Linked DNA regions of Homo sapiens: all the other regions are linked to region 1. The links are contacts of gene promoters, found by promoter capture Hi-C in human tissues and cell types (Jung and others, 2019). All regions are on one chromosome and are shown on one strand. Each heading gives the region's core, a stretch centred on a gene start or on the middle of the fragment in contact. The rest is flanking DNA. Distances are from core to core; before and after follow the strand shown.

What was found. The method cuts DNA at HindIII sites, captures the fragments that hold promoters and counts their contacts. A contact is called where the count stands out against the background at its distance.
Region 2: a fragment that was not itself captured here is called in contact with the fragment with the promoter of UBE2G1 in region 1 in 1 of the 25 tissues and cell types used here (spleen).
Region 3: a contact is called between a fragment that was not itself captured here and the fragment with the promoter of UBE2G1 in region 1, in 1 of the 25 tissues and cell types used here (aorta).

What each region holds. Positions count from the first base shown.
Region 1 is chr17:4,364,986-4,368,838 of GRCh38, forward strand. It overlaps UBE2G1 (ubiquitin conjugating enzyme E2 G1), which reads right to left and starts at 1,690. Exons shown (of 6, transcript NM_003342.5): 1 at 1,286-1,690. The coding sequence starts at 1,331. RefSeq lists silencers at 331-1,110, 1,161-1,860 and enhancers at 1,023-1,709, 1,529-1,823. The HindIII fragment of the contact is 21,131 bases long and covers 1-3,853 here.
Region 2 is chr17:4,940,707-4,944,579 of GRCh38, forward strand. It overlaps RNF167 (ring finger protein 167), which reads left to right. Exons shown (of 10, transcript NM_015528.3): 2 at 1-287; 3 at 371-451; 4 at 1,635-1,760; 5 at 1,871-1,958; 6 at 2,145-2,235; 7 at 2,473-2,578; 8 at 2,720-2,813; 9 at 3,852-3,873. The coding sequence starts at 204. Among named protein-coding and RNA genes, the nearest start is that of RNF167, 2.4 kb to the left of the region's middle. RefSeq lists a silencer at 1-6 and enhancers at 340-469, 3,506-3,873, 3,684-3,733. The HindIII fragment of the contact is 4,639 bases long and covers 305-3,873 here.
Region 3 is chr17:3,792,002-3,795,903 of GRCh38, forward strand. The region is part of intron 1 of ITGAE (integrin subunit alpha E); the gene reads right to left. Among named protein-coding and RNA genes, the nearest start is that of ITGAE, 7.2 kb to the right of the region's middle. RefSeq lists enhancers at 2,183-2,905, 2,906-3,627, 3,388-3,437, 3,491-3,902, 3,628-3,902. The HindIII fragment of the contact is 5,173 bases long and covers 1-3,902 here.

The DNA.
Region 1 (3,853 bases), core at 440-2,939:
CTTGTCCAAACCTGCTTGCTCATGGTCTAATAATAAACCCAATTATACAATCTGTAAGAACCCCTGACAACCTTTTCCTTAAGAAGCCATAAAGGTGATTTAACGAACACCTCAAACTCTTAGTAAATGTATTTCAAAAACAGATTTCATCACTCCAGTCTTTGGCTTCTGCTGAGGGCTAGAGGCTACTGGTTTTAGAGTGGGTAGGGGGAAGATCGCTTGAACTGAGAATGACACACGCCGGGTGTTGTACAGCAGGGGTAAGTGCTGGTTCATTTCTCTTTAAATCTGGCAGCACGTGGGGCTGCATTGTGAAGCCACCAACCCGCCTCCCCCCTTCCACTCCGCACACGGACGTCTCCACTGCGCATGCTCCGCGCACACAGTCCTAGCAGAGTAGGAGCCAACCCCCTAAAAAGTCAACCTGGAAGCCGCAAACGGCCGGAGGCCGGGACAATGGGGGAGGGGGGCCGCAGGCTCCTCGGGGAGGCCGACCCGGCCGCCGCCCCGGGCCAGAGCCTGCGGGCGCAGCTCCGGGGTTTGCAGGCCTGCGCAGCAGCCGGAATCGCGGCGAGCACAAAGCCCGGAGCCGGCCAGCGAGCGGCTCTCCCCGCGGCCCGCTCCTACCCTCCCCCAGCCGGGCGGCGCAGCCGGAGCCCGTGCCAGGCGGAGGCAGGCGAGGCGGCGATCCGCACTCCGCCAGGGTCTCCGGCACCCTCGCGCCCGCGTGGAGGCCGCCGAGGCCAGCGCTTTTGTTGTCGGCCCCAACTCCGCGGACCCAGCGCCGCCCGGGGAGAAGTTTTGTGCGCCTCACCTATCCCGCCAGGGCCGGTCCCTTCCGCCCGCCCTCAGACACCGAGCCGGGGACTCGCAGCCGCACTGGGTCCGGACGCTCCAGCCGGCCCCGAAGGTCCGGCGGCCCCGGCAGCACCTGAACCCGGGACCCGCCCCTCCAAGCTGGCGGCCCCGGCCTGGGGACCCGCACACAGCCCCTCCCCCGCAACGTCCTACAGAACGGTGGGGGAGGGGACCTCCTCCTCTCCGACCCCCCGGGCGCCAGGCCCAGTCCCTGGGCCGGAGCTGGGTCGCGTCCCCGCCCCCAGTGCCCTCCAAGAGCCGGGCGAGAACGGCTGGGCCCGGCCGGGACCGGAGCCTCGAGGTCCCCACCCTCGCAGGCCCGGGCCCCTTCGGCAGTACGGCCGCTGGCCCGGGAGGAGAAGAGGGACTGGGCTGCGGCTGTCCGCGATCGCGGCCGGGCCCGGCGCCCCGCCGCCCGCCTGCTCACCTGCCAGCTGTCTTCGCAGTAGCAGTGCCGACTGCAGCTCCGTCATCCTCCCTGCCGAGGGCCCGGGCTGGCGCCGGGGCTTCCGAAGGGCTGGGGACAGGCTCTGGGGGCGGCTGGAGCGGGGTGTGCCGAGGAACCCGGGCCCCGCGACCGGAGCGCCGGAGCCGAGGAAGGCCGGGCTGAGGCGGCGGGAGCGGCGCCTCGCTGCCGGTGCGAGTCCGCTCGCTTCAGCTCTTTTCACAGCGACTCACGCCCGGAAGGGGAGGGTGCCCGGGCTGCCGCGGCGCGCACTGGGACTTCGCTCGCCCGCTTCCCTCCTTCAACCCGCCCGTCGGCCCCACCGGTGCCTTCCCCCGCCACTGCCTCACTGCGCGCAGGGCCGCTCGGCGCAGGCGCGCTGAGACTGCCGACTTGGGAAGCGTCCCGCCCGCTAGCCCGACCCCTCGGCCTCCCGCCCCGCCCCCGGCGGCGGAACCCCGCCCCTTGAGCGCAGTTGTCCCGTCCGCCGCCATTTTGGGAAGGTCGACGCCCGGCTGCCAGCCCAAGCCTCCGCTGGTAGACGCCCCGCGGACGCCATGACAAAGAGGTCGCAGAGGGTCAAATACAGCCTCTGGATTGAAGCAGTGGATATAGGAGCGAAGAGGCCAGAAGAAGTGGTAGATGTCTAGTCCTTGGCGAGCGCCCAAAAGCCATCTAACACTGCCACATGGTGTGCGAAGTAGGAATTGTTAGAAAGCCGAAGTTAGTACTGGTGTGCCCCATTTTAACCAAACATCAAAATAGAGGCAATATATGATGATAACTCACTTTACATGAAGAGTGCACAAAAAAAGCCACCGCGTCCGGCCCTATTATTATTGAGCCACCGAGACCGGCCCTGTTATTATTATCATTTATGGACGGCAATTCTCTCTGTCGCCCAGGCTGGAGTGCAGTGATCATAGCTCACTGCAGCTTGGAACTCCTGGGCTTAAGGGATCCTCCCATCTGAGTCTCCTTAGTATCTGGGATTACAGGTACACACCACCATGCCCTGCTATTTTTTTATTTGCTTTATAGAGATCGGGGGGTTTGACGGGGCGCGGTGGCTCATGCTTGTAATCCCAGCACTTTGAGAGGCCGAGGTGGGCAGATCACCTGAGGTCACGAGTTCGAGACCATCCTGGCCAACATGGTGAAACCTGGTCTCTACTAAAAATACAAAAATTAGCCCAGCCTGGTGGCAGGCGCCTGTACTCCCAGCTACCAGGGAGGCTGAGAAAGGAGAATTGCTTGAACCTAGGAGGCAGAGATTGCAGTGAGCCGAGATGGTGCCACTGCACTCCAGCATGGCCGACAGAGAGAGACTCCGTCTCACAAAAAAAAAAAAAAAGGAGGGGGGGGCCAGAGGTCTCTCTGTGTTGCCCAGGCTGGTCTCAAACTCCTGGGTTCAAGCAGTCCTTCCAACTCGGCCTCCCAAAGTGTTAGCATTACAAGTGTGAACCACTGCCCCCTATCAAATAGACCAAAGGGACCATTTTGATATTTCACTTTACCAAATCAAGGAAATTTACTTCTATTCCTAGTTTCTTTCTTTTTTATTTTATTTATTTATTTATTTATTTTTTGAGACAGCCTTGTTCTGTCGCCCAGGCTGGAGTGCAGTGGCGTGATCTTGGCCCACTGCAACCTCTGCCTCTCAGGTTCCCGAGTTAAAGCAATTCTCCTGCCTCAGACTCCTGAGTAGCTGGGACTACAGGCGCACGCCTCCAGGCCAGGCTAATTTTCTTTCGTATTTTAGTAGAGATGGGGTTTTACCATGTTGCCCAGGCTGGTCTCGAACTCCTGAACTCAGGCAATCCGCCTGCCTCAGCCTCCCAAAATGCTAGGATTATAGGCAAGGGCCACTGTGCCCGGCCTATTCCTAGTTTCTTAAGATTTATTTTTTGTAAAAAAAAAAAAAAAAAAGATTTATTTTTTGTAATAATTTCCAAATCTGGTGAAAGATCAGGGCTGGATAAAGGTTTAGAAATTGAACCTAATCCTTAAACAGTGGGAGGCCCCTGAAAAGTTTTAACTAGGAGTAGAAAAATAGCAGACTTGCATTTTGAATGTTTTGCTGTGGCTGCAGAGAATTGATGAGGGAGGGAGGGTCAAGACCAGTGCCCTGCAGGCTGTGGTGGCTCTCATCTGTAATCCCAGCTCTTTGGAAACTCCACGCAGGAGGATCACTTGAGGCCAGGAGCTAGAGACTAGCCTGGGTGACAGAGCAAGACCCTATCGCTACAAAAAAGTGTGTTTTGTTTTGTTTTGAAACAGTCTCCCTCTGTCGCCCAGGCTGGAGTACAGTGGCACAATCTCAGGTCACTGCACCTCTGCCTCCCTGGTTCAAGTGATTCTCGTGCCTCAGCCTCCTGAGTGGCAGGGATTACAGGCCTGTGCCACCATGGCTGGAGAATTTTTGTATTTTCGGTAGAGACAGAGTTTCACCATGTTGGCCAGGCTGGTCTTGAACTCCTGGGCTCAAGTGATCCACCCGCCTCAGCCTCCTAAAGTGATGGAATTGCAGGCATGAGCCACTATGCCCAG
Region 2 (3,873 bases), core at 1,374-3,873, 580 kb after region 1:
CACCCAGCTCCACTAAACGGGTTGGATATCTCATTCTTTGAGTTGGTGTTCCTTCCCCGGCGCCCCCATGTAGCTGGGAAGTGGGACCTGGGGGTGGTTGGACCCCTGGGATCCTAAAGGAGGGGCAGGGAGGGCGCAGAACTCCGCTTCTGCTCCTTGCTACCAGGACGCGCGGCCTCCTCAGCCTCTTTCCTCCCGCTGCCATGCACCCTGCAGCCTTCCCGCTTCCTGTGGTTGTGGCCGCTGTGCTGTGGGGAGCGGCCCCGACCCGGGGGCTCATTCGAGCGGTGAGTCTGAGGGACGGATGGGGAAAGGGCGCTGAAAGGAAGGGTTGCAGGCTGAAGGGGAACATCGCCTTTTTTGTCCGCAGACCTCGGACCACAATGCCAGCATGGACTTTGCAGACCTTCCAGCTCTGTTTGGGGCTACCTTGAGCCAGGAGGGCCTCCAGGTGATTTTCTTTCTTTTCTTTTCCTCCTTCCCTCCCTTCCTTCCTTTTCTGTCTTTTTTCTTTTTTTAGTATTTCGCAAGATCCTCCATCCTAGGCTGGGGTTGGGGAGGTTTGTCCTGGGTGAAACTGGAGGTAGGAAAATGAAGTTAGGAACTGAGCACGTCTAGTGTAGAACCCAGAATCTAGAGGGAGAAGACAGAGTGTCCACCCCTGGAACTCCGAGGTTATCAGGGAGACTGAAAGTGGACGAAGACAGAAGGCAGGATCAACGGTCCTTATCAGGAAGGTCTCAGGTGCTAGTTATTGCTTATATGACTTTGGGCAAGTTAATCTCTCTGAGCCTTAGTTTGTTTTACTGTAAAATGGGATATTAGAAGTTTTCCTAGGGTTATTGTGAAGATCAAAGTAGATACGCAATTTTGGTAGTATTTCATCCCAAAGACTGCCACATAGCAAGAACTCAGTTGGGCCTTAGTAGCAGTCGAGTTGTTTGTGAGATGGGTAATTAGAAAATTGAAGAGGCCGGGCGCGGTGGCTCACATCTGTAATCCCAGTTCAAGACCAGCCTGGCCAACATGGAGAAACCCTATCTCTACTAAAATGGCAAAAATTAGCTGGGCGTGATGGTGCACGCATGTAGTCCCAACTACTTGGGAGGCTGAGGCAGGAGAATCACTTGAAACCGGAAGGTGGAGGTTGCAGTGAGCCGAGATCGCGCCACTGCACTCCAGCCTGGGTGACAAAACGAGACTCCATCTCAAAAAAAAGAAAAACAAAAAGAAAACTGAAGGGAGGGGAGTGTGTCTGTATGAGTATGTGCTGGAGAGGGGACTGTGAAACAGAACTTGAGAGAAAGTGACATGGGTGGTTTGAGAATTGAATTACAATTGGAATATTAGAAGGCAAAAATAATTGCATTAGCTTGCAGTATAGGGTACAGATTAGCCCATCTGGGACAGCGAGAGGGATGATGGGAGAGTTTGGTGAAGGGATGTTTTATGTCATTGCCTTTTCAAGAGGCTAAGAGAAGGTTGTGATGGTGGGATGCTCACTCAGACCCCAGGAAGGAGGAGGAAGTGAGGATAGAGGATGTGCAGCATGTGGGCTGGTGTGTTTGGTGGCCCCTGTAGAGAGCAGAATCTAGAAAGGAGAAATCTCACTGTTGTTTGCTTCCATCCTTCAGGGGTTCCTTGTGGAGGCTCACCCAGACAATGCCTGCAGCCCCATTGCCCCACCACCCCCAGCCCCGGTCAATGGGTCAGTCTTTATTGCGCTGCTTCGAAGATTCGACTGCAACTTTGACCTCAAGGTTGCTGAATGAGGAAGGGGAGCTGGGCAGCTGAGGGTAAAAAAAAGGCACCAGGAATGAAGACAGGTAAGGCCCATGATGGCTCCTTGTCCTCTGCCTTGTCTCCCTAGGTCCTAAATGCCCAGAAGGCTGGATATGGTGCCGCTGTAGTACACAATGTGAATTCCAATGAACTTCTGAACATGGTGTGGAATAGTGGTAAGGCTGGGGGAATCTATACAGCTGGGCTTTCAGTAGGACCCAGAGATGGTGGGAAGGCTGAAGGCCTCAGGAAAAGAAGCCAATCCTTTAGGTGGGGTGGGGCCAAAGTGCAAGATGCCAGGGTTCCCAGAGGATTTGAGTAGAAGGTTGTGAGTCCCCAGAGTAACACCTTGATCCCTGCAGAGGAAATCCAGCAGCAGATCTGGATCCCGTCTGTATTTATTGGGGAGAGAAGCTCCGAGTACCTGCGTGCCCTCTTTGTCTACGAGAAGGGGTAGGACATGTGCCTCCTTCCCATTCTTCCTTCAGCAAGCAGTTCCATGCCAACCTGGAGCCCAGGCCTCCTCATTACCCGAACCATTCAGCCTCCTGTCCTTCCTTCCCTGCCTCTTTGACTTTCTTCCCATTCCTGTCCCCACCTATGGGCTTTGTCCAGAGCCAGTTACTTTGTCCCTCTTTTTTTCTCCCTTTGCCTTTCTCGCCCTGCTGAGACTGGTCATCCTTTTCCCAGGGCTCGGGTGCTTCTGGTTCCAGACAATACCTTCCCCTTGGGCTATTACCTCATCCCTTTCACAGGGATTGTGGGACTGCTGGTTTTGGCCATGGGAGCAGTAATGGTGAGTAGCTGAGGGAACATGATGGGAAGCACTGAGGCCTGTGAGGCCAGACTGGATCTGGAGTTGGGAGATGGGAGTGGCTTGTCCTAGATTGTCTAGTTTTGTTCCTAAGCCTTGTCCATCCACCCCCGCTTCCCCCAGATAGCTCGTTGTATCCAGCACCGGAAACGGCTCCAGCGGAATCGACTTACCAAAGAGCAACTGAAACAGATTCCTACACATGACTATCAGAAGGGTGAGGGGGTTAGGGGAGAAGAGGGCTTTTCCCACAGTTTACCTGGTTCTGAAGGACTTTGAGCCCAGAAGATAGGGTATACAAAGATGGCAGTGGCCGGGCACAGTGGCTCACGTAATCCCAAGTGCCTCTAATCCCAGTACTTTGGGAGGCCAAGGTGGGCAGGTCACTTGAGCCCAGGAGTTTGAGACCAGCCTGGGTGACATGATAAAACAGAAAAGTCCCAGCACTTTAGGAGGCTGAGGCAAGTGGATCCCTTGACCCCGGGAGTTCAGGCCAGCCTGGGCAATGTGGTGAGACCCCATCTCTATAAAAAAATAAAATTAGCTGGGCATGGTGGTGTGCACTTGTAGTCCCAGCTAATTGGGAGACTGAGACAGGAGAATCACTTGAACCAGGAAGGCGGAGGTTGTCGGGGGCTGAGATTGCACCACTGTGCTCCAGCCTGGGCGACAGAGGGAGTCCCTTTCTCAAAAAAATAATAATAAAAATAAAGATGGCAGTAGGAAGGTTTCAGCTTGAGATGCTGTCTTTTCTTCTGTTTTTATGCATAAATACAACGAAGACGGGAGAGGAGATGGAAAGCAAAGATGATTAAGTGAAATAATTGTGGGAAACAATAGAGGGATAGACTTTGCTTATAGGGGATGTGGACAGAGCAGAAAAATGGGAGGAATGGGGAGGATTCAGTTAGAGAAGGAAGAAACCGGTACCAAGGGGCTGGGGCTTTAGGCCCTGGGGCCTCCAGTGCCCGTATAAGGCTGTGGCAGAAGCCCTGCCCATTTCCGTTCCTTCCACTCCCTATCTCCACCCTCACACCTCCCCAAAAACCCACTTCCCTTCTTACCTCTGCTTCTCTTTGCTTGTCCCTTCTAGCCCTAAATTCTTCCATGTTCTGCCCTGACCTTATCCTGCCTACCTGTCTTATCTCTTCCACTGGCTTTGTAGGTGAGGGGAAATTTTTGCAAGGCTTTAAAAGCCTTAGCCCTGGGTCATTGTGGCTCAGTGAAGGACTAGATTATTTTCTTTCTGTCCCAGGAGACCAGTATGATGTCTGTGC
Region 3 (3,902 bases), core at 700-3,199, 570 kb before region 1:
GGAGGAGGAGGAACCTGGGGAGATGGCTCTGAGGCCAGGCTCTGGATCTCTCATCCCTGCATTTAAGGCCATTTCCCTGAGTCTGGCACAAAGTAGATATCTATATTTAATTTTATTTTATTTATGTATTTATTTTTTGAGATGGAGTCTGGCCCTGTTGCCCAGGCTGGAGGGCAGTGGCGCGATCTCGGCTCACTGCAGCCTCTGCCTCCCGGGTTCAAGCGATTCTCCTGCCTCGGCCTCCTGAGTAGCTGGGATTATAGGCACGCACCACCACACCTGGATAATTTTTGTATTTTTAGTAGAGGTGGGGTTTCACCATATTGCCCAGGCTGGTATTGAACTCCTCAGGTGATCCGCCCGCCTTGGCCTCCCAAAGTGCTGGGATTACACGCGTGAGCCACCGCGCCCGGCCTGATATCTATATTTTATTCCTTTTTCTTCACATCTCTGCCTCGCCTGGAATGATTTGTGGTGATTCATAAAAATACATAATACAGGTAAGATAAAACTCGCTTAAAATAATGGGGCAGGCAAAAAAGAACAGAAGGAAAATGATGGTTTAAAAAAAGAGGGGGATACAACAAGCCAGGAAGGAGGCCAACAGCTAACATGTAGATCACGCAGTGCCAGCACTTTCTATCACGTGCCCCACTGTTGGCTCTGAACACAGCGCTGGCTCACAGAAGTGTTCCTAAAATCCTTTGGCTTAATAAAATCATTTGTTGATTCAACGCATACATGAATGAATGAAGCTTTCTTGAAGGTGATATCAACATGAAAAAGATCAGTTAATGCCATGCGGTGTCCACAAAATTCAAAAAACAAAACACTTCCAGGCAAAGCACAACCAGTCTGGTTATTCAAATCAGAGAAAAAACTGTCCCTAAGGGTCCTTTGTGAGAACACAATGAAGAAACCCTGCACCCCAGCTTTTGCAGACCTGTGATTTGTGTCCTCCCTGCCAATGCCCCAAAGTAGAAAACACAGGAAACATAACCAGACCAGACGTTCTTGTTTGGGGGTAATGGATCCCTTTGAGAATCTTTTTCTTTTTTCTTTTTTTTTTAGACAGAGTCTCACTCTGTCGCCCAGGCTGGAATGCAGTGGCACAACTTTCGTCTCACTGCAACCTCCGCCTCCCGGGTTCAAGCGATTCTCCTGCCTCAGCCTCCTGAGTAGCTGGGAAAACAGGTGCCCATCACCATGCCCAGCTAATTTTTTGTATTTTTAGTAGAGATGGGGTTTCGCCATATTGGCCAGGCTGGTCTCCATCTCCTGACGTCCTGATCCACCTGCCTCAGCCTCCAAAGTGCTGGGATTACAGGTGTGAGCCATCATGCCCGGCCTTTTTTTCTTCATTTTGAGTTGGAGTCTCACTCTGTCACCCAGGCTGGACTGCAATGGTGTGATCTTGGCTCACCGCAACCCCCACCTCCTCAGTTCAAGTGATTCTCCTGTCTCACGTGGGCCCTGGGGCCGGAGCCCAGACTCCCTACTGGGCATCCCTTATCTCAGCTCTGGATTCGTGGGGGAGCAGCAGGAACAGTACAGCCTTCTTCCCTGCCTAGGGGTCTTGATCTGGAACCTTTGAGAGTCTATGTAGGCTGTAAGTGGCCACTCTCCCAGCACCTACCGAGTGTAGGCCAGGACTCAAAATACTGGGTCTCTGGAGTAGCTGGGACTACAGGCACATGCCAGCACTCCTGGCTAATTTTTGTATTTTTAGTAGAGATGTGGTTTCACCGTGTTAGCCGGGATGGTCTCGAACTCCTGGCCTCGTGATCCACCACCTTGGCCTCCCAAAGTGCTGGGATTACAGGTGTGAGCCACTGCACCTGGCCCCCTTTGAGAATCTGATGGAAGCATTGGAGCCCTTCCTGATCCCCTGAGTGCACATGTGTACAAAATCCTCCCCTTGCCTGATTGAAGTGCTCTGTCCTCAGCCTGTCTCCTGGCTTCCTCTTCATCCTTTTTTTTTTTTTTTTTTTTTTGAGATGGAGTCTTGCTATTGTCGCCCAGGCTGGAGTGCAATGGCACGATCTCGGCTCATTGCAACCTCCGCCTCCTGGGTTCAAGCGATTCTCCTGCCTAAGCCTCCCAAGTAGCTGGGATTACAGGCACCTGCCACCACACCGGACTAATTTTTGTATTTTTAGTAGAGACGGGGTTTTGCCATGTTGGTCAGGCTGGTCTTGAACTCCTGACCTTGTGATCCGCCCGCCTCGGCCTCCTAAAGTGCTGGAATTACAGGCGTGAGCCACCGTGCCTGGCCTCTAATTTTTTTTTAAATTTTTTGTAGAGATGGGGGTCTTGCTATGTTGTCCAGGCTGGACTCAAATTCCTGGGCTCAAGTGATCCTCCAGTCTTGGCCTCCCTAAGTGCTGGGATTACAGGAGTGAGCCACTGTGCTTGGCCTTCCTTGTTTCCCTATTGCCAGTGACTGCCCCCTGCCACCAGTGAGTCCAAGGGGGCACACACTGCATCTGCCTCGATCGCCACATTATCTCAGGGCCTGGCATGGTGGCCCACCCTCGGTAGGTGCTGGGAGAGTGGCCACTTACAGCCTACATAGACTCTCAAAGGTTCCAGATCAAGACCCCTAGGCAGGGAAGAAGGCCGTACTGTTCCCGCTGCTCCCCCACGAATCCAGAACTGAGATAAAGGACGCCCAGTAGGGAGTCTGGGCTCCGGCCCCGGGGCCCACGTCACGTTGAGCCCTGTGCCTCCTGGTCAGTCACTCTGGGGAAAAAACAGGACGTCAGCAAACTGCCTAGAGGAGAATTAAAAAGTGCGAGCTGCCAACATGTTACGAGGGGTGGGTGGGGGGCCTTCTTCCCCCCGTTTCACTGTCGGTATAACTGAAAAGGCACGAGTGGAGGCCGCAGAGCAAAGTCCAGTCTCCTCTCCTGGGCGTCCGTGGCACCCCCCCGCTCTGCCCGGCGCACCCTCTGCACACTCCTGCCTCCAGGCCTCGACACAGCGGCTCCCTCCACCCAGCAGGCCTGCTCAGCACTCTCCACCTCTGTCTGCAAAGCCCGTCTTTTGTGGCCCTGCTCAGCCAGCCAGGAGCCAGGAGCCAATCCAGACTCAGTCAGAGTAACTCCCGGGTCCCTGAGCCCCCTCAGCACCCTGTGGTCTGTCTGGCTCTGACCAAACCCTGAGCCCCCTCAGCATCCTGTGGTCTGTCTGGCTGTGACCAAATTCTGTCTGGATCAGGGTGATCTGTGATTCAGTTTGTCTGCCCTGAACTGTGATGTGATCTGAGTCACACACAACACCCCCAGCCACAGAGCCCAGCTCAGCGCAGGGCCAGGCCCACCCAAAAAAGGTGCTCTAAAAAGGTCAGAGTGGGCCAGATATTCCCTTTCCTCACGCCACCCCACCCCTGTGTTCACTTTGTTCAACAGAGATCTTGTTCAACTGAGGGTTCCGCTCCCCCAGAGCACCTGTTGCCTTCCAGGCACCACGCTAGGTGCTGAGGCTCAGAGAGGGGTGTGGTTTGTGCATGGCCCGTCGGAAGATTGAATATTTGTGTCTGGGGCTCAGATTCTGTGTTTATGCCCGATTTCAAAGCCTTTAGTAATAGCTGGAGGCACCGAGGGGTTGGTAAACAGAGAGAGGCCAGGGTCACAAATGGCCTCAAGAAGCTGGGCACTGCTCCTGCCGTGCGGCGGCTCACTGAGCTGGAGCAGGGCTCTGCTTACAGGGCTGGTAACTAGGTCAGCAAGAGCCTGCCGCAGAGGCACGGTGGCATGAGACTGTGTACGTGCGTGTGTGCATGTGTGTGCATCCGTGTGTGCTTGTGTGCATCCGTGTGCATCCCTGTGTGTGCATGTGTGCATCTGTGTGTGTGCATCCATGTGCATCCGTGTGCGTGTGCATCCGTGTGTGTGCATCTG